7 separate regions of the Homo sapiens genome follow, and regions 1, 3, 4, 5, 6 and 7 are each linked to region 2. The links are contacts of gene promoters, found by promoter capture Hi-C in blood cells and fetal thymus (Javierre and others, 2016). All regions are on one chromosome and are shown on one strand. Each heading gives the region's core, a stretch centred on a gene start or on the middle of the fragment in contact. The rest is flanking DNA. Distances are from core to core; before and after follow the strand shown. Region 1 overlaps UBR4 (ubiquitin protein ligase E3 component n-recognin 4). Region 2 holds the start of ALDH4A1 (aldehyde dehydrogenase 4 family member A1). Region 3 has its middle 2.8 kb from the start of PAX7. Region 4 overlaps CAPZB (capping actin protein of muscle Z-line subunit beta). Region 5 overlaps MRTO4 (MRT4 homolog, ribosome maturation factor). Region 6 overlaps EMC1 (ER membrane protein complex subunit 1). Region 7 overlaps UBR4 (ubiquitin protein ligase E3 component n-recognin 4).

The links. Contacts are between HindIII fragments. The CHiCAGO score rates a contact against its expected background, and 5 or more counts as called.
Region 1: a fragment that was not itself captured here is called in contact with the fragment with the promoter of ALDH4A1 in region 2 in 1 of 17 cell types (fetal thymus); the score reaches 7.4 in fetal thymus.
Region 3: a fragment that was not itself captured here is called in contact with the fragment with the promoter of ALDH4A1 in region 2 in 1 of 17 cell types (fetal thymus); the score reaches 5.5 in fetal thymus.
Region 4: a fragment that was not itself captured here is called in contact with the fragment with the promoter of ALDH4A1 in region 2 in 1 of 17 cell types (fetal thymus); the score reaches 8.1 in fetal thymus.
Region 5: a fragment that was not itself captured here is called in contact with the fragment with the promoter of ALDH4A1 in region 2 in 1 of 17 cell types (fetal thymus); the score reaches 12.6 in fetal thymus.
Region 6: a contact is called between a fragment that was not itself captured here and the fragment with the promoter of ALDH4A1 in region 2, in 14 of 17 cell types (fetal thymus, megakaryocytes, neutrophils and 11 more). The highest score is 15.1, in fetal thymus.
Region 7: a contact is called between a fragment that was not itself captured here and the fragment with the promoter of ALDH4A1 in region 2, in 1 of 17 cell types (fetal thymus). The highest score is 6.3, in fetal thymus.

The regions. Positions count from the first base shown.
Region 1 is chr1:19,170,568-19,173,898 of GRCh38, forward strand. It overlaps UBR4 (ubiquitin protein ligase E3 component n-recognin 4), which reads right to left. Exons shown (of 106, transcript NM_020765.3): 23 at 2,872-3,054; 24 at 2,614-2,739; 25 at 2,297-2,526; 26 at 195-316. Among named protein-coding and RNA genes, the nearest start is that of UBR4, 38 kb to the right of the region's middle. The HindIII fragment of the contact is 1,441 bases long and covers 1,345-2,785 here.
Region 2 is chr1:18,900,219-18,903,850 of GRCh38, forward strand. It overlaps ALDH4A1 (aldehyde dehydrogenase 4 family member A1), which reads right to left and starts at 2,337. Exons shown (of 15, transcript NM_003748.4): 1 at 2,244-2,337. The coding sequence starts at 2,305. It overlaps LOC124903866 (a long non-coding RNA gene), which reads left to right and starts at 1,895. Exons shown (of 2, transcript XR_007065519.1): 1 at 1,895-2,034; 2 at 2,592-3,153. RefSeq lists a silencer at 2,104-2,323 and enhancers at 2,404-2,633, 2,573-3,390. The HindIII fragment of the contact is 9,883 bases long and covers 1-2,633 here.
Region 3 is chr1:18,626,394-18,629,776 of GRCh38, forward strand. No RefSeq gene overlaps it. Among named protein-coding and RNA genes, the nearest start is that of PAX7, 2.8 kb to the right of the region's middle. The HindIII fragment of the contact is 3,276 bases long and covers 1-2,940 here.
Region 4 is chr1:19,404,445-19,407,960 of GRCh38, forward strand. The region is part of intron 2 of CAPZB (capping actin protein of muscle Z-line subunit beta); the gene reads right to left. Among named protein-coding and RNA genes, the nearest start is that of CAPZB, 79 kb to the right of the region's middle. The HindIII fragment of the contact is 636 bases long and covers 1,799-2,434 here.
Region 5 is chr1:19,254,498-19,257,980 of GRCh38, forward strand. It overlaps MRTO4 (MRT4 homolog, ribosome maturation factor), which reads left to right. Exons shown (of 8, transcript NM_016183.4): 2 at 285-343; 3 at 1,451-1,554; 4 at 2,567-2,648; 5 at 2,957-3,024; 6 at 3,336-3,483. Among named protein-coding and RNA genes, the nearest start is that of MRTO4, 4.4 kb to the left of the region's middle. RefSeq lists an enhancer at 1-263. The HindIII fragment of the contact is 2,913 bases long and covers 671-3,483 here.
Region 6 is chr1:19,235,830-19,239,612 of GRCh38, forward strand. It overlaps EMC1 (ER membrane protein complex subunit 1), which reads right to left. Exons shown (of 23, transcript NM_015047.3): 9 at 3,402-3,473; 10 at 2,966-3,028; 11 at 2,188-2,310; 12 at 1,313-1,409. The region is part of intron 1 of EMC1-AS1 (EMC1 antisense RNA 1); the gene reads left to right. Among named protein-coding and RNA genes, the nearest start is that of EMC1, 14 kb to the right of the region's middle. RefSeq lists a silencer at 1-50. The HindIII fragment of the contact is 1,117 bases long and covers 1,976-3,092 here.
Region 7 is chr1:19,197,219-19,200,655 of GRCh38, forward strand. It overlaps UBR4 (ubiquitin protein ligase E3 component n-recognin 4), which reads right to left. Exons shown (of 106, transcript NM_020765.3): 3 at 2,433-2,536; 4 at 1,581-1,710; 5 at 1,323-1,462; 6 at 729-831; 7 at 452-593; 8 at 1-47. Among named protein-coding and RNA genes, the nearest start is that of UBR4, 11 kb to the right of the region's middle. The HindIII fragment of the contact is 3,762 bases long and covers 1-3,160 here.

The DNA.
Region 1 (3,331 bases), core at 815-3,314, 270 kb after region 2:
AGTAAAAAGGGGATCAAAGTAACACTTCTTGGGTTATTGTGAAGATCAAAATAGACAAACCTACCTAAATGCTTGATACACAAAAAGGCTCCAATAAATAGTAAACGCCAGTAGGCACCAAGGGAGAGAAGCCATAGTACTAGCAGTAGTAGCTGTTGTAATAATATTACTCAAAAGCACATTTGTTCTCTTACCCAGAGTATTTGCCTTGCACCTGCTAGAGCCAATAGCCAAAACAGCAGCAAAGCCTTGCAGTTTCTCCTTGGAAGGTTTCTCAGTTGTTCCCTCTTCATTAAAGTTTTGCAGCAAATAGGCTCTGGGGAAAAAACAGGGGGAAAGTGAAGCCATAAGATTCTAATCCCACCAGTTAGGAAAAACTGGCCCTAGACTGGCTGAAAACCCTATATCTCAGTTTCCTATCTATTTAATGTAGTTGATAGTGCCTGCCCCTTCCTGGTCTCTAAGAATTCCAATGGGTAATCATTTCCCAAAGAATGTCCCCTCCTCTGAAATGCTCCCAAAACATGACTGCCTGACAAGTAAGCCTGAGAAACAGTGAATACTATATCTATCCTCCTTCCCCACCTCAGAAGATTGACAATGTATACAGTAAAGGCTCTGAATACTATATTTTTTAAAACAAAACAAAACAAAAAAAACTGTTTATCCAACATTTTGCAAACTTACTTGACCAGGAACGTTAACAGCTCAGTGTGGAAAGTACTGGCCTATTAGGCCAGATTAGAGTCTGTAAATTCCCAGAGGGCAATGACTTGGTCTGCTTTGGCTACTGCCATAACCCTAGCACCTAGAAAAGTACCTGGCACGTAGCAGCCATACATATTTGTTTGGCTCAAACAAATTTGAGCCAAAAAAAAAATTTGCCTCAAACAACAGCCCTCTATCTTCTGCAAGGCAGTCATACTAAGAGACAAGGTTAGTTAAGTCTGACAAAGATCTAGGTCCCTTTAAAGCAGCATAAAGCCCACAGAGCTGGGCACGGTGGCTCACACCTGTAATCCCAGCACTTTGGGAGGCTGAGGCAGGTGGATCACCTGAGGTCGGGAGTTCAAGACCAGCCTGGCCAACATGGAGAAACCCCATTTCTACTGAAAATACAAAAATACAAAAATTAGCCAGGCATGGTGGTATGCACCTGTCATCCCTGCCACTCGGGAAACTGAGGAGAATCACTTGAACCCAGGAGGTGGAGGTTACAGTGAGATGAGATCGCACCACTGCACTCCGGCCTGGGTGACACAGTGAGATTCCATCTCAAAACAAAAAAGCACCATAGAACAGGAGTGAACACTGAGATCCTACAGGGACCAGATAAAGTCAATAAGCTTAAGAGAGCCCGGTGAAAACTGCTGCAAAGGGAACTAATTCTCAGCTCCAGTCTGTTACTGTTGTTTGGGAAGTCAGGCCCAGTTTTGCCAGTTCTTCCAATTTAAGAAAAGCCAGAAATCTAAACTTGTGAATAATCTCCCAATTTTATATACTGAAATTAACTTTAAATATTTAAACATCATACAGACCAAAGTCTACAGGGCATGCAATTTGCAGTGTTTGTTATAGAAAGAGTTGAATTTCAAATAATTTCTAACTCATTTAGAGATTTTTTTTTTTCTCCAACTACATATCATCACATGTAAAGAGCATTTAAGGGCCAGGCACAGTGGCTCATGCCTGTAATCCCAGCACTTTGGGAGGCTGAGGTGGGTAGATCACCTGAGGTTAGGAATTCAAGACCAGCCTGGCCAACATGGCGAAACCCCGTCTCTACTAAAAACACAAAAATTAGCCAGGCACGGTGGTGCATGCCTGTAATCCCAGCTACTCAGGAGGCTGAGGCAGGAGAATCACTTGAACCCAGGGGGTGGAGGTTGCAGTGAGCCAAGATCGCACCATTGCACTCCAGCCTGGGCGACAGAGCGAGATGCCATCTCAGAAAAAAATTTTTTTAATAATAATAAATAAAGAGCATTTAAGGAGCTTTAACTCAGTTAATAACAGAAATGACAGTGTTTTGAAAAATTACCTTTCTCTGTATCCTACGAGTAAAATCGTACAAAATATTTAAAGAATTATAGACATTAAACTTCCTCCTGACTCCTCCTGCACTATTTGAAAATTTCCTCATCAAGCACCCCTTCATACTAGAGAAGAAAGCATTATACGTGGGGAAAAAAACCCCTAAGCTGAAGAAAGAGAAAAATGTCAAATTCTGAGTCAATGCGGGATCTGCACGGAGTGAAGAGTGCATGTGCATCTCTGGGCAGGCAGTTCGCCACACCTGGTGAACGATGCATAGGTGTCAATGAGTTGCAGCGTGGCTGGAAGTAGGTTCTTGGTAATCTCAGACGACTTATGAGGATCAGTCTCAGCAGCCATCTTAGAAAAATGCTCATCCAAAGAGACCTGGACCTTTGAGATCGCGGCATCAAGGGTGTAGATGGACTGCAGACTGGGAATTTCATGCAGCTGCAAGATGGTGGTACAGTCGATACTACAGAAGGATGAGATCTTTAAAAATATGCAAAATATAATTAGCTGTGGCAATGGGCTATGGTAGAAACCAAGTTCTATCATTTAGGTTCCAATATTACATACCTGTCGAGCGAAGTATTCCTCTACTATTTCAACATCATATTTCACTGAGCTACACTTAGTGGTGGATGCCAGTTCTAGAAGCGAGCTAGCATGCTCAGCCTTCATTCCCTGTTTGATAAGGTGATCCTATTTGGACAGCAAGAAAAAGTGTTTAGGAGATGACTATAGGCAAAGCTTTCATTATCTTCAAATTTAAAAGCTCCAGTAAGCACAAAGCACTTTGGCTTTGAATAGTCTTAGCAGCAAGCTCTGTGTTACCTTTATCCAGTTGACATAGGAGCTGATCCGGAGCCGAGAAGACCATCGCAGAGTGTGCAAGATGTCACATTCGCTCATCTCAGGTGAGTTCATGGATAGCTGGTTAATGTAAGTCTTTGATGGTGGTAAAATTCCTAGGATCCTCCACAGTATCAAGAAGTAATATTGAAGGGCACAGGCCTCCTGGAGAAAGGAAAAGCAGCATAGAGGTAGCACTTGGTATGGCCTCAAGATCTCCCTCACAGTACGAACTACTCCAAATACAACTTTTAAACCAGAACTGTATAGAGTCCTGATTTTAAATTGAGATTTGGCCCCCAAGTCCATTCTCCAGATCTTTCTAGAGAGTGCACCTAGCAGAAAATGGCAGAACACACATACAAATAATTTGTTCCGTATTCTGCACATTTCACAGACCAAAAAGGCTATTCCAAGACAACTTTGGCTCCCCAATAATTTA
Region 2 (3,632 bases), core at 1,087-3,586:
AAACACTAAGAAGCATCTCCTATACCCGTTCCTCAAAAGCAGCGGTTTTTCTCAGGACTAGAGTTTTACACGTAGGACACTGAGGGATGTCACTGAAAATGCCCTGCGACTGTTTCTCCATAAATGCAGACATGGCATGTCACGGGTGTGCTCTAAATGTTCACTGAGTAAATGAACAAGTGATCAAACATCAAAGCTGTTCCTCTAGAGCACTGGCTCTCAACCGGAGGTGACTTTTGTCCCCCAGGTAACATCTGACAATGTCTGGGAACTTGTGTTTCCTGTCAGGGCCAGGGTTTTTTTCGTAATTGTCAGGGCCGGGGGTGCCCCTGACATGCAGCGGGTAAAGGCCAGAGACGCTGCTAAACATTCTACAGTGCACAGGACAGACTCCACAGCAACCAAAATGTAGCCCCAAATGCGAATAGTGGTGAGGTTGAGAAATCCTGTCTAGGGCATGCGGCCAGCTGCTGTATCAAAGGGGTAACTTGAGCCCAGGGAACCAGCTGCAAAATGCTCTTTCTCTTTCCCCTCTCAATTCAGGAGGCCTCATAATTCAGAGCATAAATCTGGATTTAGACCAAATGTAATTTCAGTCATATATCTCTGATGGCAGATCGTTTCCCATGATAATACAGGAATGAGACAGTACTTACCGGCTCGGTGTTAGGCCCATGGTGCTTGATTGCTTGATAATCATTATTGTTATCATGGGCTTATCTTTTAGAATATGGATTGCTTTCTACTAGATATTGGAGGGTTTTCCTATGCATTTCTCCCCTATTAAGCCGAAAACTCCTCAAAGGCCCCACCCCATGTAAATTCCCTGGGTACCCCTCATCTCTAGGGTGTTTGGCAGAGCACCAGCTCACAGTAGGCACTCAGTAAACACAGGACTCTATAAGCTCCATCTTCCTGAGTCTCAGAGTGCAGGGAAGGCCTGCAAACGGGATCACACAGGGAGTATGGCAAGTGTGGCCCCAGTCTCAGCCTAGAAGAGGAACCCCTCTGTCCCATGTCCTCTTCCTGCGCCCTTTCCTATCCCCTCTTCACCCACAGAGGACACACAGCAGTGTTGCAACTCACTTGTGCTCAGAGCACCACCATGCCATCCCTTGGGGGAAGGGAGAGGGCCACTGATTAACTCAGAAAGGGCACAGCTCATCAGGAAAGACACTGCCACTAACAGCCCCAGGGGTCAAGCAAACAAACCTCAAATGGGAGGGGGGGCTGATCCACAGGTGGGCAGCCCCACCAGACTAGGAACCCCTCTGGGGCAGGGTCTGTGTCCCACCTACCTCTCCAAACCTAGCTCCGAGCTGGAGGGGCTCTGAGAATATTTGTCATTGAGTGGGCAAGGGTCCAGGCACCTGGCTCCACAATGTCAGGTTTGCAAATCGGGATTTGAAGGGCAGGTCCACCCCTGAACTGCTCCTGGGTTTCTTCATTATTTGGAATAATGACCTGCCTCACAGGAGTGAGAAGTTTAAATAGAGGTGATAATGATGATGATCGTGGCAATAATAATAACCGGGCGCTGCCTTTGTGCTGGGCACTGTTCAGTGCACTCCCCATGTATTAACTCATTTAATCCTCATAAGACACCTGCCAATTGCCCGGCCAGCATTTGGTTCATTATAAGCACTCTATAAATATGATTATTCCACCTACAAGAAGAAAGGAATCCTTTTTTCTGTCCAACATTTAACTTGAAAAAAAAAAAAAAAAACGGGCGGCGGGGTGTGTGGGGAGCGGAAAAGAGAGAGGTAGAAATCCTGGTAGAAGGAGAGGACTCGGGGAATCCGGGGCGGGATGGGGACACTGAACGTGAGACGAGGGTGGGGAAGTGAGATGTGTGGTGTGCTAAAAATAGAAGGGCCCCTCAGGGGAAGCCAGCAAATTGCGAAGATCCAGTATTAGGAGTGAGGTGAGTGACTACAGAGGCTACTTTCCGAGCGTGGGAACCGGCAGGGCCACCGAGGCACCCTACTCGGTCGCAGGATTCGGGAAGAGGGGTCCCCTCGCTAAAGGAAGGTGACTACCTGAGGGAGGAGGCTAAGGGATCTCAGTGGGAGAAAGGCCTGGGTGGGGGTCGGAGGGGAGCCCCTGAGGAACCCGGCGTTGACCGAGGCAGCTTGGGGGTCCGGCAGGGAGGGAGTGCGGCGCGGGGGACGCCCAGTGACTCTCAGGCTCCCGGGCCCCAGGCGCGCGCTCGGGCCGCCCCGGGCCCCGTGCTCACTCACCCGGCCCCGGTCCAGGGGCGGGACAGCAGGGCGCGGCGGAGCGCGGGCGCCGGCAGCAGCATCTCGGGTTAGAAGCGGGGCTGTTCGCTGGATCGTCCGCCCGGGCGCGGCGAGAATGCACAACCCCGTCCAGAGCGCACCACCTCGATCCTCGGGGGGAAACGGATCACCCCGGCTGTCCTCCGAGCTCGGGATCAGCCAAAGTCCCACTATATTTAGCTTCGGCTAATAAAAAATATTTCTAGTGCCATAACGGGGGCATTACACAACACAGGACAAGGGAACCCGAAAGCGAAGTCCTGAAATGCATGCGTTTTCCCCTCCTCTCTTTATGGTATGACCCGGGAGAGAGGGCGTGAACTCTGTCGACCAGTCAGAGTGACACACCAAAGCTTCTGAACCAATCAGCGGGGCGGTCCTGCGGCAGCCTTCCAAAGCGGAGCAGAGAGGGGCTGAATAGAGCCAATGAGATAACCGAAATGGGACACGTGCTGAAGCGGGGCAGAAGGACTCGCTGCGTCCGGCCCTCTGGCGTGCGCCCCGGGTTCGATGGGAGTCCGACTGACTTCTCTCGGGCTGCCGGTGGCTTGTACAAGGCTGGAAACCTGTCCGCTACCAGACTCCTCGACCCCGCAGGGCCACAGCGCGGCCAGCCCCCTGCTTCTTCCCGGGGGCTGCGGCCCCTGGAATGAGCCTGCCTTCCAGCTTCTTGGCCAGGACCCAGCCGCTCTCCACCTACCCTCCAGGCGCGGGGCCGGCCAGCTTCTTAGCTTCCTTGCAGATTACGATCAATGCAAGATAAAACCTGAGCTGGCCAACGCTTAGCTTTTCATTTAAAGCCTTTGGCCGCAAAACCAGTTGTTCCTGAGCCTTTTACCCCCAAGTAAAAATTTCAGCTTTCTTTGCAAAATGTTGTGTGCTTGGTAAACACTAGAATGCTATTTAAAACTTGGATTCTGAAGTCTTCTCTGATGACGAGGTCTCAGGGACCCAATCTATTCCTAAAGTAATGTTACGTTTCCTTACTCTCTGTTCTAATTTGTTTATATTTCTTCCAGCAGCATGAACCGCGCACCTGCTTAGGAGTCAGTTCCCATGCTGATTTTGGTTCCTCAAGCAGGGCACTAGGCAGACTACATATCCTTTCCGGGCCTCAGTTTCCTCATCTGTAAAACGGAAGTAATAGTACCCAACTCACAAAGCCCCCGTGATCTTAAGCCACTTATTTTTCTCCAGATTACACCATTTGAGGTACTTTGGGAGAATGTAAACATTTAAATGAAGAGTAGGAGAGGGAGATTACCTAAATGCCAAGTATTAGGAATGGCAAAAAGCAAATTGGAATTGGTGGCGGCTATTTGTCTTCACCTTTGGAGAAAACCCTAGACA
Region 3 (3,383 bases), core at 53-2,552, 270 kb before region 2:
GAGTTCGAGACCAGCCTGGCCAACAATGGTGAAACACCATCTCTACTAAAAATCCAAAAATTAGCCAGGTGTGGTGGGGGGTCCCTGTAATCCCAGCTACTCGGGAGGCTGAGGTGGGAAAATTGCTTGAACCTGGAAGGCAGAGGCTGCGCTGAGCCAAGATCACACCACTGCACTTCAACCTGGGTGACAGAGTGAGACCCTGTCTCAAAAAAAAAAAAAAAAAAAAAAAAAAAAAGAGGTGTAGAGGAGGAGGAGGCGAAGGAAGAGGAAGAAAACAGAGGAGAAAGAGAAAACAGAAAAGGAAGGGGAGGAAGAGGAAGAAAACAGAGGAGAAAGAGAAAACAGAAAAGGAAGGGAAGGAAGAGGAAGAGAAAGGGTGAAGGAAGAGAGGAAGAGGAGGAGAAGGAGAGGAAGGAAGAAGACCAGGAAGAAAAAAGGGAGGAGGCTCACTCGAGAGCCCACTTAGCAGTAGGCCTGAGAGAAACCTGGTTATTATTACTGTTGTTGTATCTTTAGTGATGTTGTTCTTGCCCAGTTCTTGAGAACTGGAATCCAGTGCATACTATTCCATTTTTCTGGGGAAAATGAAAATGTCAAGCAAGCTATCAACTTTCCTTTTTGTTTCTATTCAGGTTTGGGCAGATTATTTCAAGCTCACCCCTAGAAGAGTGCCACTTCTTAAAAGAAAAGCATAATAATAAAAGGTCGGTGCCTCTTGGAAATGTAGCGCTGAGGAATTCCAGCCTCCGAAACCTGGAAGGAGACTCCTGAGAGTCCTTTGTTCCTGGATGTTCAGTTTCCCTCCCCACCCCCACGCCCACCCCCTCCTCTCTCATTATCAAACATTTGAAGACTGAGTAATTCCATTTGTTGATGTCTTTGGCCTCCTCTAGCAGAGCAGGCCAGAGCCTCTGAAAATGCAAAGGCCCCCAATGAAATAAAAACCCCTGGTTTTCAAGGTGGATTTATCACCCTTTAAAGGAATATTTATTGGGTAATCACTTTCCAAAAGTGCTCATGACACAGGGGACTGAAATAAAGAGCGTCCTCTCCCTCGGGCTGAGGGAAGAGGCTGTTGGCCACTTGGATGCAGGGAGGAGGGAGCCTCTTTGTGGCCTATGTCTTGGGAGGGAGCAGCCAGAGACAGGCCAAGTTTCCCCAGCTAAACTCAAGCTGGGGTCTTGCTTCTGTACCTTGGGCCTACTTATTTCTCTCCCGTTTCCAAACCCAAATTGGGTTTGGAAGATGCCACTTGGAAACTTGGGAAGAAGAATTCCTATTAGCATTGTTGTTGCCTTTAAGAAAAGGGAAAAGGAGGAATGCAGAGATTTCAGACCAGACGGGGTGAGCTAGAGATAGGAGACAATCATCCAAGCCAGACCACACTGAGACGGGAATGATTCCTGGCGGATTAGTGGGCTGGGCTGGGCCGGGCCGGGAGATGCACCCCAAGACCAAGCAGAGAAGGAGGATCTCTTCCCCAAGGTCTTTAGCCAACCTCATCTGGACCAAAGGATCTTCCCAGGGATTCAGGTCTGAGTTACAGCCCAGAGAGCAATGGAGGCCCATACATACCTCAGGAAACCATGGAGATGGGGGAGGCGGTGACAAGACAGACAGTCCCAGAGAAAAGCCGCTGGGGTGAAGCCAGAAAGGCAAGGAGGAAAAGAGAAAGAGAGACCAAAAGAACAAAACAGATGGAGGAGACCATAAGATAGACTGAGGGGGAAAGAGAGACAGGAAAAATGTTTGTGTGTGAGAGAGAGACAGAGAGAAAGAGGGTGAAAGAGGGTGAGGAGAGACAGGGATAGAAAGAGGGGGTCAAGGGCTAAAGGAAAACTTTCTGGAACAAGTCTGGCCCAGCCCACACACTCAGAAGCCCTCACACCCTCCCAGCAGCAACTGGAGGTCTTAGGAGTTGATTAAGCCTGCATGGGGGTGACTTTTTCTAGACAAGGGGGTAAGCAAAGGGAAACAAGAGGAGGGGACGCGGCTCTCCCCCATCCCCAGCCACAGTTCCCAGGTGAACCCCCCTTTCCCCTGCTGGATGTGAAATCGCCATTTCACCCCACCACACTCCTTAATTGTTGCAAAAATCATTTGTGAAATTGGTCTCCAACAGGCAAGAACGGCCACGCTCATTCCAATAGACAACCCCACCTCAACCCTTCCCTCTGCAAGGGCCCATGGAATCCCGGAGCTGCAGAAACCCTGGGGGCCTGTGTCGCTACTGCACCCACTACTGTGAGTCTTTTGCAGGGAGGGTGAGGGACCACACTGTGGGCAAGGTGGCCCCAGTGCAGGACTCCTGAGGTTCTGAGGGTCCCTGGCAGCAGAAGTGTCCAGCTATGCACTCGCCCCACTCAGCTCAAGATGCTACATGAGCACTGGCCAGAAGAGAGGGAGCCTCCCACCCTTGGCACACCCTGGAGGTCTTTTCTCACTTGAGAATTGACCTAAACACACACTCACACATTCCTGACGCGCGCTTAGAGCCATACCAAGGCAACCTGGAGGTGACCTCAAAGCAGAAATACAGACATGGACCCTCACTTAGAAACACACATTTACTCAAACTGACCCCAAACAGACCTACACACAAAACCCACCTGCACCTTGACACACAGACCCGGGCACAGGCCTATATTCACACGCAAGCACACTGGCCCATTCCACAAATACAGGGAAGAAGTGCCTTGAAACCTTCCAGGCAGAGGACAGCTAGTGACGAATGAATGGATGAATATGCAATATACCTAATATATATGTGTGTGTGTTATACGTGTGTATGCATAAGTGTATATGATACAAATACATGTATATATACACACAGAGAATATATATCCACCTATGGAGGTCAAAGCAGGCCAGGTCCCCAGCAAGGCTGGTGATGTAAGGGGGTTGCTGTCTTCCCTGGGCACACATGCTATGGCTTAAAGCTTGATCTCCCAATCTCTCCCGGGGGAGGGCCCCATAACTTGGGCCAGGCAAAGTACCCCGGTGTCCCCCTTCCAATTCGAAAGCTACTTGGCATCTGTCTTCTCAGTTAGAGAGAGTATGAGCTCAACAAGTTTTTCATCAGGGCCCCCATTCCCAGAAGGCCCCCCCAAAATCTGATGAGCCCCTTGTGCTAGGAGAGTGGGGAGAGGAGGGAGATCTGTCACATGCTGCAAGGGGCAAAGGTCACAGGTGAGGCGAAGGGGAGGGATGGGGACACCCTGGGGCCAGCCAGCGGTGAGCGCCCCAGGCTAAGACAAGGCTGACCCCACTGCCGAGAGAGGGCGGGCAGGGGGTGAGATTGAGGGCTGGGTTCATTTTATTGTATTTTGCCTCCAGCGTGGGGCCAGAGACGCTCTTTCCCCCGGGAGACAAAAGGCCTG
Region 4 (3,516 bases), core at 867-3,366, 500 kb after region 2:
GAGGCTGGAGAATCACTTGAACTCGGGAGGTGGAGGCTGCAGTGAGACGAGATCACGCCACTGTACTCCAGCCTGGGTGACAGAGCAAAACTCCATGTTAAAAAAAAAAAAAAAAAAAAAGAGGTAATGGGAAAAATGCTCGCTTGTCATTGCAAGATCTGAGCTCACCTCACAGTCCCTCTCCCACCTGGAAGAAGGCAGGACATTTCAGAGCCCGATCAAGCAGCATTCACCCACCTATCTGGCCAAACAGGGAAACGCAGGCTGCTTTTGACAAGGGGCACGCACCCTCCTCCTTAAAAGGACAGCTCAGCAATCATGGGAAAGCAGTGGATTCCAGCCGCTCCTGTCAGGGATTCCACCACCTTCTTTGGATGATTTGCACCAAGTATTTTCCCTACATGACTTCCTTTAATATTCACAATTGTCCTCTTTTAGAGTGAGGCAAATCCAGAATTCTCTCCATTACACAGATGAGGAAACTGAGGCCTGGAGTCTGGTAGCTTACCGAGGGTCACCTAGATATTCAGGATGCATGCTCCCAGCCCCAGCTAACTCATGACTCCGTGACCTTAAAGACTCTGTCCATATACTGCCACCTGCCGGGACCACCAGCCCTTGAGTCCCAGGGGCTGAGGTCTCCTGAGTCATAGCTCAGCTCCAAGAGGCATCCGTCCCTTCTCATCTCTGGGTCTCAGATCACACAGCCTAGAATGTCTAATGTGGACTCCCCTCAGAATTTGGGGATAGCAGGGTTTTTGGTTCATTATCTCATATTTATTTGTGGCCATATCGACATGTGGCCAGGCACTGTGTTAGGGTCTGGGGATAGAGGTGAGCATCATGGCATCCCGCAGGTGCTCGGAAGCCAGAGGGCCCTCCAGTGCTAAGAGTACAGTTACAGCACACAGCAGTGCTTTCAGTGCGTTAGATAAAACGTGGAGATTTGGCTGCCCCTACAGGCAGCGTTTGGGACTAGGAAGGTCAATGAGACAGGAAAACAATGCGGGCGAAGAAGTATTAAGCCTCTTTAAAACACCTGATGTACATATCTCCTCTACTCCCAACTGATGTTCAACACATAGCTAGAAAGAGGCAAAAAAAAAAAAAAAAAAAAAAAATCCCCTTGTATGAAGGATAATCCTTTCAGCCTGGGGCAAATCTCCTGAAGAGTTTTGTTCTGAACTAGGAGTGTTGTTTTAGCTTCCAGTCAATAGTAATTAAGAGTCCCAATATATTCCAGAAAGAGGGAGAGGGAGATTAACGATCATTAAATCTCTTCTGCATTTGGCTCCAAATCTCTTTTCGGAGGGGCCGGCTGTCAGATGATCCCTCCAAAGCGTCCATCTGACAGCACTCCCGCCGCCACCATCTGGAACATCAATTCGAGAGCTCGCCTGAAGGTTTCAATTACATAAAAGGCAATGGGCCCATTAGGACCCGAGAGTCTGGAGCTTCACAAGCGCTGCTCACACCCCCTCTCCTGTACACAAAGCCTCTAGAATTTGGTTGGCAGTCATTTGCAAAGGGACTCATTTTGGTGGGGGCATGGGGCTGGCCAGCCCCTTGGCAAGGCCTCTCTCAGGCAGGCTCTGTGCGTGCTATGACTGACAGGGTCTCTAATGAACCTTAATTGTGAGCTCGACAGGCCCAGGAAGGCAGCCACAGATGTGGCAAAGGGCAACCGCAAACCGTCTGATTAGTGAATAAGAAGTGTCCGGCCCAGTGAGGGCCAATGACCCAAAAAAGGAGGAGGGCGGGACTATTCCTCCCCCACGCATCCCTTCTAAAGCTCTGAAGCTTCTTTATGTAAGCAATGCAAAGCCTCTGGGTGCACTGGAACCCAACGCACCCCTCCCCCCGGCACTACTGCTTGGCAGCTGGCAGCTGGGATGTTGGGGTCTTGTGCTTGTTACCACGGATGCTTCCGTCTCCATCAGCAGTGCACCTTTAACCACAGGAGGCCAGAACAGAACGCCCTTTCAACGTGGGAAGGGGGAAGCTACCCACTACGGAGACTGAGTAACTTCTTGCCGGTGCTAAGAATTGTGAAGACAGCTGCATTCAGAGTCAGCCATCCTCTGGTGACCTGCAGTGACAAGGAGAAAGCTACTCCTGGGGCAGCTTTGGGCACAAACAGCGTGACGGAGAAGACAGGCTTTGCAGACGGGTAGATCCCAACTCTGCTCCTTACTAATTAGCTGTGAGGCTTGGACCAACTCATGAAACCTCACTTGGTTTCCTCATCTGTAAAATGGGCATAAAAGATCAACCTTGTGGTGTGCAGTTTAAATAAGCAAAGGGTCTGGAACAGTACCTGGCACACGATAGTCATCTCTTAAAACCCGGGAGAACAGCAGAGTATTTTGCGCAAGTTTGACATGACCTCAGAACTCCATGCAGACAGCTACTACAAGCCAGGTACTATGCTAGAAGCTTTACACCCCCCATCTCTCATTCTTGAAGTTAGTGTCATGCCCATCTCACAGATGAGGAAACTGAGGCTCAGTGGTCACACAGCTAAGACGTGGTAAAGACAAGAGCTGAACAGGATTGTGCCTTTCGATTTCAAGGCACTCCACTATCAACTTCAATGCTCCTAACCAAGCATTTCAGGCATCCTCAGACTAACAGCCTAGAAACACCTAACCAAGAATTTTGTAGAATTTGAATTCCCAAATACACCAAAACAGGCTTCTCTGGCCTGGCATATAAAGGTGTGGTAGGGGGCACTAAATGGCCAATCTGTTTCCAAGGAAGTCTGCAAAACAAATGAGGACTCCACTTCCAGCCTTGGTCTGCTTCTTGGCTAGTGGCACCTCACAAGCATTTTCTGCATCAGGGTCATGAATAGGTAGCAGCAGGTGAGCTGCTAAAATAGCCTCCCCACCAGAAAGCAGTCCCAGGAGAGGCCCAGAGATACAGAACAGAGGCCCATCACTGGGAGGTTGTGTAGGACCCTCACACATAGACTGGGGGGCTCTCAAGCTGGGGAAAAGGGTACCTGGGGGGAGACTAGAGATGTAGGTTCAAGAAGGGGACAAGAGATTCAGAGGAAAGAGGAGCAAGAGGTGAGCAGTGCTGATAAGGAAGAGGGTAAATGGCAAGGAAGCTGGGAAACCGACAGAAAGGATCCTGAGGACCCAGGTTTCACAGGTGACCTGGCACCTCTGGAAGGCTGAGGATTGAGGGGTCTGATGACCTGGGAGGCTGCAAGGCTGGCTTGTCCTTGGACACTGAGATCAACCTAAGACTCCTTCCTGCCGCCTTAGACCATCCAGCCACGCTCTTGTCTAGCTTTCTCTCCCAGGGCTTCCGAAGACTTTCCCAATGATAACCGGGGTCAGCTCCTCATTCAGGGAGCAGAAGCAGGAAGAAAAGTGCCTAGCAAGCAATCAGGAAGAGGAGGGGGAGAGACCCTCACCAGGGCGGACTGTGCAGCTGGTGTCAGATGACCCTTATCTCTGCAGAATGGAAACCAGCCAGCCAAAGTCTGGAGGCTCACCTTCTGACCTC
Region 5 (3,483 bases), core at 877-3,376, 350 kb after region 2:
TCAAGTTTTTTGGGTCAGCCTTAGGAGCTAAGAAAGGCCTAGTTTGTCTAAATAGCAGGAGTTATATCCAGGGATCTTCAGGCCCAGGAATGCTAATGAGTAGGCATTCCATGGGCCCTGGGAATGGCTTTGTGTGCCAGAAATGATGGCCACAAAGGCCTTGCTGCCTTTTTTCAGAATGGCTGCATCCAGCTGAGTGCTCTCTGCCAAAGGGGAGAAGAAAATAAGTCTCCAGTGCATTTAGATTGGTCTCTCATCATCTCTCTCCTTTTTGTTTTTATTAGTCTCCTTAACCAAAACTGCCAAGAAAGGCTTGGAATTGAAACAAAACCTGATAGAAGAGGTAAGAGGTTGTTCTTTTCTAGAGCTTGCAATTGTTTGGTTTATAAAGGTAGGTATAGGACTGTTGGCCAGGGATAGGACTGTTGGCCAGGGGAACATACTAGTGGGGAAAAAAAAAAAATCTCCAAGCTGCCAATCCAGGCCTTTTTCCTCCAGCAGCAGCACCAGCAAAAACTTCCATAGTGATGATTTCCAGCTTTGACTAGCTCGTACTCTGTGCCCTGTCCTGCACTGTGTTTCTTATGCGTTGTTCCACTCCATCCTCATAACATCCCTGTGATGTGGGTACTAGGTGATGATGTTGCTGTTTTGCATTTGGGGTCACTGAAGCTTACAGAGATTTGTTAGCCTGCCTAATGTCAAAAAACAGGAGGCCAGGAATGGTGGGCCACGCCTGTAATCCCAGCACTTTGGGAGGCCAAGTGGGTCAGACAGCTTGAGTCTGGGAGCTCAAGAGCAGCCTGGGCAACATGACAAAACCTCATCTCTACAAAAAGAAAAGAAAAAAAAACTAGCTGGACGTGGTGGTACGCAGCCTGGGCAACAGAGTGAGACCCTGTCTTTAAAAAAAAAAAAAAAGAGCTGGGAGATTTACCAGGTGTAGGTGACTGCACCAACCCACTGTCTGTACAGCTTCTGACCTGCCAACCTGGGCTGCAGGCTGGGTGAAACAGTCTCCTCCTGCACAATGACTCCACTCCTAGAGGCTGCCTCATGGTGGCTTTGGCCAGCACCACGTGCAGAGCAGTACCGATCAGCTGCCTCCCCTTATAACAGAGAGGCTCCATGTGTTTCCATGTAGCAGGACCCTTCCTAATGTGGGTGAATGTTTCTAGGTTAACAGCTGATGATCAGTTCCACTGTTGGTCATAAATAAGTGAGAGACCTGGAAAAGGCCGTGGGGTGTAGATCCATGGCTCAGCCTCCCCTGTGGTTAGGGATCCTAATTTCAGTAATGGAGGTAGGAGACAACCAAATTAGAGGCCTCCAGTTCTTCCAGTTTCCATAGTTGTCAGGGGCCCAGAGCAGATTCATTCTCATCTGAGGCCAGAGTAGTGCCCGTTGTATGCTGCTGCTTGAACTCAGAGCCTCGTGAATTGTCCCACAGCTTCGGAAATGTGTGGACACCTACAAGTACCTTTTCATCTTCTCTGTGGCCAACATGAGGAACAGCAAGCTGAAGGACATCCGGAACGCCTGGAAGCACAGCCGGTGAGCGGGCAGGGGGAGGAAGGCCCTTCTGAGTGGGGACCCGGCCAGGCTGCTCTCAGTCAAAGCACAGGAGCAATTTCTGACCCTTTAGGTGCCTGGGTCATGCCGCTGACACCTTAATAAGGACAAAGTGCTACCTGCCACTGAAGAGCACTTCCTTTTCACTGTTAAAGCTGGTCTTGGGCAGGGTGCGGTGGTTCACGCCTGTAATCCTGGCACTTTGGGAGGCTGAGGCAGGGGGATCACCTGAAGTCAGGAGTTTGAGACCAGCCTGGCCAACATGGCGAAACCCCTTCTCTACTGAAAATACAAAAATTAGCCGGGCATGGTGGCAGGCACCTATAATCCCAGCTACTCAGGAGGCTGAAGCAGAAGAATCACTTGAACCCATGAGGCAGAGGCTGCAATGAGCTGAGATTGCACCATCGCACTCCAGCCTGGGTGACAGAGTGAAACTCCACCTCAAAAAGCAGATTTTGCACTGAGCTCCTAGGGGCAGGACTTGGCAGTTGCTCAGGAGATGTTTGAGAGGTGGGCCTTTCCGGAGAAGTGGCCCTTTAACCCTGGACTGTGGGCCATTTAGGAGCATCACACCAGTTTTAGAATGTCAGTAGGGACACTGCGACACAGACAGTGACCTGGGAGCAGGATGCAGGAGCCACATGGCAAGTTTCTGTCCTGGGGCAGGTGGCTCTGGTGGTGGTCTCTTGCCGCACCAGCTCTGGTTCAGGCTGTTAACATGCCTCCCGCATACATCCAGATAGAGAACTGGTACATGATGCTCGTGATGGGCTGGGAGACAAAATGTTGCCATGTCAGGAGTCTGTGGGTGGGAACATAATGAAAGGGACCCCAACGTGGGGACAGTGTGGCCAGGCAGCATGGAGAAGTGGGTGCCACTGGCTCAGCCTGGGCCTGAGCTCACTGGGGACCGGAGCTACTTTGCATGTTGCTGAGGGATGGGGAGGGCAGGGCTCTTCCTTCACAGAATGCTCTTTCTCTTGCTTGGTAGGATGTTCTTTGGCAAAAACAAGGTGATGATGGTGGCCTTGGGTCGGAGCCCATCTGATGAATACAAAGACAACCTGCACCAGGTAAGTCTCTGGCCCTCACGGGGTGGAGCTAAGGCAAAGCCGCCCTCTCTCCCACTACTCCCATGTGACAGCCTCCCCCAGCCATTGGCAGGCCGGAGGCTCAGGGAGAGCAGGGCCTGGCTTAAAGCTCTGGGTTCTCCCTTCACCTCCGGACCCAAGGAATAGCAGCTTCCTGCCTCCCACTCCTTCCTGCTATGACAACCAAAAACGTCTTTAAATGTTGCCAAATGTACCCGGTGAGCAAAAACGTGCCTAGTAGAGAACCACTGCTCTAATGTGACCAAGCTGTCCTCACTCCTGATTTGTAGGTCAGCAAAAGGTTGAGGGGTGAGGTGGGTCTCCTGTTCACCAACCGCACAAAGGAGGAGGTGAATGAGTAAGTACTGCTGAGGAACGGAGGGAAAGAGGCGGGTGAGAGGGGATTTCAGGGAGGGAATGATGCAGGAACTTCGTTCCATATGTGGCATCAAGTTGGAACTGCTCCTGGAAGCCTGTCACTGAGCTAGTGGCCTGGGACCACAGCCCTCTCTGTCCTCTCCAGCATGGTGCTCTGGGCTGGCTGCTGGCCAGCAGCCAAGGTCTGTGATGGGGGAAGGCCCAGGGCCACGGGACACTTGGGGGAGCCTGACTCATGGGCTGGTGGCGTGGCCAGGAGCATCTCCTCCTACCACTTCTCTTTTCCCTTAGGTGGTTCACGAAATACACAGAAATGGACTACGCCCGAGCTGGTAACAAAGCAGCTTTCACTGTGAGCCTGGATCCAGGGCCCCTGGAGCAGTTCCCCCACTCCATGGAGCCACAGCTCAGGCAGCTGGGCCTGCCCACCGCCCTCAAG
Region 6 (3,783 bases), core at 1,284-3,783, 340 kb after region 2:
CTGCAGTGAGCTATGATCACGCCACTGTACTCCAGACTGGGCAACAGTGAGACCTTGTCTCAAAAAATAAATAAATAAATAAACAAAAGCTAAGCCTGTCTCCCAGATTTTCTAGAGAGACTCTTCTCGCTGACTCAGGGATTACTACAAGCTCTTGCATAAAAGGAGAAATGGCAGAGCAAGGGGCTGGAATCAATAGGTCAAAGGAGGAAAGTTCTGTATCCCACCGAGAATGCCAAGTTATTCTTCAAAAGCAGGTAACGGGGCCGGGCATAGTGGCTCATGCCTGTAATCCCAGCACTTTGGGAGGCCAAGGCGGGCAGATCACCTGAGGTTAGGAGCTTGAGACCAGCCTGGGCCAACATGGTGAAACCCTGTCTCTTACTAAAAATACAAAATTAGCGCCTATAATCCCAGCTACTCAGGAGGCTGAGGCAGGAGAATCGCTTGAACCAGGAGGCAGAAGTTGCAAAGAGCTGAGATTACACCATTCCACTCCAGCCTGGGCAACAAGAGCAAAACTCTGTCTCAAAAAAGAAAAAAAGAGCCAGGCACGGTGGCTCACACCTGTAATCCCAGCACTTTGGGAGGCCGAGGCAGGTGGATCACCTGAGGTCAGGAGTTTGAGACCAGCCTGACAAACATGGTGAAACCCCATCTCTACTAAAAATACAAAATTAGCCAGGCGTGGTGGTGCATGCCTGTAATCCCAGCTACTTGGGAGGCTGAGGCAGGAGAATCACTTAAACCTGGGAGGCAGAGGTTGCAGTGAGCTGAGATCATGCCACTGTACTCCAGCAGTCTGAGCAACAAGAGCAAAACTCCGTCTCAAAAAAAAAAAAAAAAGCAGGTGACAGGCCAGGCACGGTGGCTCACACCTGTAATCCCAGCACTTTGGGAGGCCGAGGCAGGCGGATCACTTGAGGTCAGGAATTCGAGACCAGCCTGGCCAACATGGGGAAACCCTGTCTCTACTGAAAATACAAAAATTAGCTGGTCGTGGTGGCACACGCCTGTAATCCCAGCTACTCAGGAGGCTGAGGCAGGAGAATCGCTTGAATCCGAAAGGTGGAGATTGCAGTGGGCCGAGATCATGCCACTGCACTCCAGCCTGGGCAAGAGAGCAAGACTCTATCTCAAAAAAAAAAAAAAAAAAAAAAAAGCAGGTGACATTTGGCTATGAACGAAACACTCAGGGCACACTCCACTTGAATCTCTTCCAGAAACCTGCAGCCTCCCAAAAAACAGTCTGATTGGAACACATTGGAAGGCCTGGGGAAATAAAAAAATGGGTTGAATGAGGTCTACTTACCCAACTGCTGCAGGAAAAGTAGCAGATGATCCTCTGTCTGCACCAAAGCCCGGTAGCCCACTGAGTCATCCTTCTTCAAGAACACCTGGATATACAGCTATAAGCCACAGTCAAGACCGGTGTAGTCAGTGAGGATCCAAATGCCTCTGAGAGCACCAGACCCCAGGAGTCAAAGCCTGGACTTAACAGAGGTACAGGCCATGGCATTATTTGATGTCTAAACAATGTAGCTATTATCTGGATGCCAGTAAGTGATACATATTCTTAGGAGCCAACATAATGATGCTGGGGTCTCCCAGACCTTTCCATGGAAGAACCTGAGTACTCCACGGGTACCACGCCATTCATCCATGCTCTAATCACACCCCACAAAGTGAGCAGGAGGCCGGGATTAGACTTTCCGCTTTAGAAACGAAGAAGCCACAGCCCAAGCAGCTGAGGAACACAACCAGATGCACACAGAGGCAATACTGGGTAGTGATGAGGAGTCCAGGCTGTGGGGTTAGACCTGAATCTGAACCGCAGTGACACCTCTTACTGGCTCCGTGACTCTGGCTATGGTACTCGATCCCACCAGGCCACAGAATCATTTTAAAACCAGGTCAGGAACAACCGCTTCATGAGAGTGTTTGGAGGGTTAAATCAATTAATGTGTAAGTTAAAAGCTTAGAACAGTCCCTGGTGCACAATGATGAGCTGGCATAAATAATACCCGCCTTTACTGTGACTTCTAACAAGTCAGTGGCTCAGAGAGCACTAGAACACATGTTTAGAGAGCCTAATCCAAGCCCCATGGCTAAGACCTGGCCCTGAGGAAAGGAAGCCATGTGCTGAGAAGCCCACAGGACAGTCTGCAAAGAAAGGCTCTGCCTTACCCGCTCAGGCCGAGTGCCGCTCTGTTCCAGGCTAAATGTTATCGTGGTGTCCAGCAGCCGCCGACCTGTCTCCACGAGGTATAGGTTAATGGTGTAGGTCTGATTGAAGCAAGCCAGAGAGTCCTAGGAGTACAGACAGCACGTGTCAACTACAGGTATCCCCCGAAAGCAAAGCCCACCAAAGGAAGTCCAAGGATTGGGGGCAAATACCCTAGAGAAGGAGCCAGGCCAGAAGGGGAAATATATGCAAAGGAGAATAAAAGAGAAAAGCAAGCTAAATCCTAAGGCAGAAATAAGGTGCCTGAGTAAATAAATGAAATTACAACTACCATACTTGTCTTGGAAGCCAGTACAGAGTAGCAGAGACTTCTGAGAGAGAGGTAGGGCTGAGCAAGGTAAGACTGAGCAAGACAGGAGGCAGGGAAACGCTTAGATGGAAGCCACAGCAGGAACCTATGCCTCCAGCCAGGGGCTCATGCCTCTGCTACAGGGTAACTGCACAGAGTACTACTCAACTGTGCCAGCCAGGATCCCAAAAGAAATGGGGACGCTGAGGCCCAGAGGAGAAAGTGGCTAGAAACAGACTCTAGGGATTCTACCTCCTAATCTCCCGGTAAAATGAGATTAAGAGAAACATCATTTAATTTACAGTACTTAGGAAACCTCATTTGAAGCTGGGAACTCTAGGACCTGCTCCTAACCAAAGCTCTTCCCCCAACTCTCTTTGGTGGCCTCCTGCGTCTCTAGGTCTGGCATACTGCCCAGTGCCACACCATACCTTTGAACTAGACTTCTCCGAAAAGCTCCCCATTGACCCATCTTCAGAACTGCTACTTTTCTGCTATGAGAAAGAGAAGGACAGGAGAAAATTCAGCCAAAGGGTCACTTCCCAGTCACTGAAATGAAGCTTTTGTTTTTGTCTTCTTAGCACTTGAGAGAAGACAAAGCTCATTTCTCACCCCTGCCCACAAAGCCTATTCAACCCTTAATAGCCCCATATGAAAGTAAGGTCATCACATTAGGGTCTCGTTCCTGGGGAGAAATGGGGTGTGCAGAAAGCTCTATAGTTGAGGCAAGACCTCACTTCTCAACAGCCTCCTGCCCGCTGGGTTCAAACTGACCAGGTCAATGTGCCCAGACTTCTGATTTTCAGGGTTCCTAGTGGAGACCAGGAAGGAAAATCCCAAGTGCTGACTGTTGTTCTCAATACTCACCACTTCATTCCGACAGGCCATGACTGCAGCCACCGTCTTCTCCCCAGTGGTGGCAAAGCTCACTAGGGCAGTCTGGGGGAAAAGCAAGGCATCAGCTCCTAAATGGGACCAGTACTAGCCAGCTGCCTTACAGAGGGTCACCTCTCCAGGGAAGGCCCTTGGCCTTAGAGTTGAAAGTGCTCCCCACTTTGGAGCAGAATGGTCAGGCATTTAAGAGCAGAGGGAGGCCTCAGTTGCATCTACAGCTGAAAACAGAACTCTCCCTACCTCCAACGCAGGCACAGGTCAATCTTAAATCCCATGCTGCTTGTTCTTACTATCTATGGGGAAGCTCTCATTTATGTCCCCATATTTCCTTTGGACTAAGGAAGGCACTAGTTTT
Region 7 (3,437 bases), core at 30-2,529, 300 kb after region 2:
AAAGGGTATCCAATGCCATAGTTACATCAATCACCAATGAATGAAAGCTGGAACATGACAGAGATCAACAAGTGTCTCTTAGAATCATTCACTTCTATAATGTGACAGTTAAAGAAATTATCAGCATGGGCCCGGCACAGTGGCTCACGCCTATAATTCCGACACTTCAGGAGGCCAAGGCAGGAGGATTGCTTGAGCCCAGGAGTTCAAGACCAGCCTGGGCAACAAGGCAAAACCCCGACTCTACAAAAAATACAAAAATTAGCCAGCCATGGTGGTGTGTGCCTGTAGTCCCAGCTACTCAGGAGGCTGAGGTGGGAGAACTGCTTGAACCAGGAGACGAGGTTACAGTGAACCGAGACTGCACCCCTGCACTCCAGCCTGGGTGACAGAACAAGACCCTGTCCCAAAAACAAAAAAAGTAAAGCATGTGCACTGTGAAGCACCTTACCCATTACGAACAGCAGTGGCATCTGCTACTGTTGCAGGCATTATGAAGAAGGAATTAGCTAAAACTGCATCTTGGAACCGATTGATATAGCGTAGGAAATATGGCAGGTTCAAACATACACGCAGTAGCTTCTCCGAGCCACCTAAATGAATGAAAACCACAACCTTACAAACAGGCCTTTGTCTGATGCTTGATTCTTATCCATATGACAGAAGCACACTTAAGGAATTTTTGACAGCCCAGAAATCAGCTTTCTGATAACAGTTGGGAGTCTTACCAAGCTCTTGAAGACTAGCCACGTTCTGAGCTATGAACACATTCTTGGTTTTGATAGCTGAGGCTTGATCTGTAGATGACTGCTCATCATTTTCTCCTTCCACCTGAAAAGAAACATAAGGCCTGTCAAGATACTATTATCTCTTCACCAAACCAACTGTCAAAAGTGAGCAGTAGCTGCACGGATACTCTCCAGACTCCCCAGTTAGTGAAGGGAAAATTCCTTACTCATGTTGGAGAAAATACAGGTTACATTTTCAGGAGGAGGGAAAAAATATACAGCTTTAAAATATATATATGTTCTATAACCAAAATGGAGTGATGCCTTTATATAGAAAACTGTACATACACCTTACATTTGTTAATTTGCATTGAGAGAAGCCTAGAATGGTCGTCAAAACAGTAATAACCGTGGACAGAAGAAGGAGTTGGGGTGAATTTTACTTGTTTTATTTTGTATTCCTCAATTTCTTTTGTCCCACAGACATGTATATCATTTTATATCACAAACATAAAATACATCACTTTTTCTCCCCTAGTGTTATCATCTTAACAAAACCCACAGAGAAGAAGACATTTGACTAAAGAAACTCACCAGAGTCTGTGTACTGATAGGTTGTGATGCTACAGTTCTAGGGTTAAAAACTGAGGTCAGCTGGTTCAAAAAATTCATCTGTACCTCCTTTTGCCTCAACTCAGGGCTTACTGGTGAGGCCAGCTCTTTCTGATCTTCCACTGTAAAATACAAAGGCAAAAAAAAGGGCTGAGGAAAGTGCCACTAGAAGGCAAAGGTGCCATGGAAAAGGTGCCATGGGGGTGGTCATGTGATCAGATCTGTCAAAGGAACACCCACCGTCTGAAAGTGTCTTCACTGTTTGGGGCAGCTTGGCGGATTTCATCATTGCTGTAAATGTGATAATTTCAGTTCTATCTAGTCGGCTACAGCCAGTGCACAGGCCCTTGATTAGGAGAATCAAGTGTTTCTGAAAAGAAAACAAATGCAAACAAAAGAAAACAAAAACAAATAGATCTTTCAGAAAATTCTACTCTTTTGGAAATTCTAACTGGCACAGGGCCAAATTTAGGTTCATATAAACACTAAAGCAAAGACTGCAAGCTGATGTCCTTAGACCGTATGTAGCTTATAGATTTGTCTTATTGTTCTCACAATATTTTTTTAAAATTTGAAGGGAATGAAAAGATTCACATGCAAATCTGAAATTCTCACGCTCAAATAATTCACAGTATAGCAACCTTGCACCTCCATTCCTGCATGGCAGTAATAACCCAGAGCCAAATAGTGGTTAGCCCCTTTAGTTGGGACCTGCAATCTTCTCAACTAGCACACTTTACTCATTTTCTGTTACCTACCTGGCCCCTGCAGGTATGTAAGTTTGCAATCCTTGAGAAGACTCTGTAGCCCCATGTACCAGAGGTTGGCAAACTACAGCTCCAATTCAAACACTGCCTGTTTTTGTAAATAAAGTTTACTGGAACACAGCCATGTTCATCATTTATATATTAATCTATGGCTGCTTTCACACTAAAAAGGCATAGTTAACTAGCTGCAACAGATAACATACAGCCTGCAAATGATTTCCTATCTGGCCTATTACAGAAAAAGTTCACTGACCTCTACTCTATTCCACTAGTCAGTCACAACACTGCTTCAGAATAGGGCAAGAAATGGGCCCATCACTCTCACCTGGGACACAGCACAAGCCTCATCTGGATTCTCCAGACGCAGGAGAGAAAACTCAATTAGAACTTTACAGGCTGCTGCCACTGACTGAAGTTGGTTCCGGGGAACTGAGAAAGTAATAAACATTACTCAATTTCAGACTGCTCAGCGTTGGTCAATAAATTAAGCAAAGTAAGTATTGAGCTCTATGTCCAACATTCCCAATATCGTAACAATTATTCAGAGCCAAAAACCCAAGGGGTAAACAAAGGCATTTTGACATCAATAACTACCAGATCAATTTATCTCATATTTACTAGAAATCAGGATAACTATAATAGGAAATACTTACATCACACCAGTGCCAAGCACTTCAAAGGTATTAACTCATTTAATTCTTAAACCAATTCTATGAGGCAGATATTCATATTATCCCTGTCCATTTTTAACAGCTGAGCTAACTAAATGACTTGACAAAAGTCACATAGCTAGGTTTAAATCCAGGCAGTCAGCCTCTAGAGTTCATGCTCTTAACCACTAAACCAGGAGTGTGCAATCTTTTGGCTTCCCTGGGCTACACTGGAAGAATTGTCTTAGGTCACACAAAAAATACACTAACAGTAACAATAGCTGATGAGCTTTAAAAAAAAAAAGGCAAAAAAAAAAATCTCATAATGTTTTAAGAAAGTTTATGAATTTGTGTTGGGCCAAATTCAAAGCCATCACATGGTCCTCAGGCTGTGGGTTGGACAAGCTTGCACTAGACAATACTACTATTGTAGTAGTATTCCCATGGATTCTAAAATGACGTCCTGGTCAGGCATAGTGGCTCACACCTATAATCCCAGCACTTCGGGAGGCTGAGGTGGGTGGATCACTTCGGGAGGCTGAGGCGGGTGGATCACTTCAGCCCAGGAGTTTGAGACCAGCTTGGGCCAGCATGGTCAAACCCCATCTCTACCAAAAATACAAAAATTAGTCTCATAACCCGATCTCAAAATAAATAAATAAATGGATAAAAATTTTAAG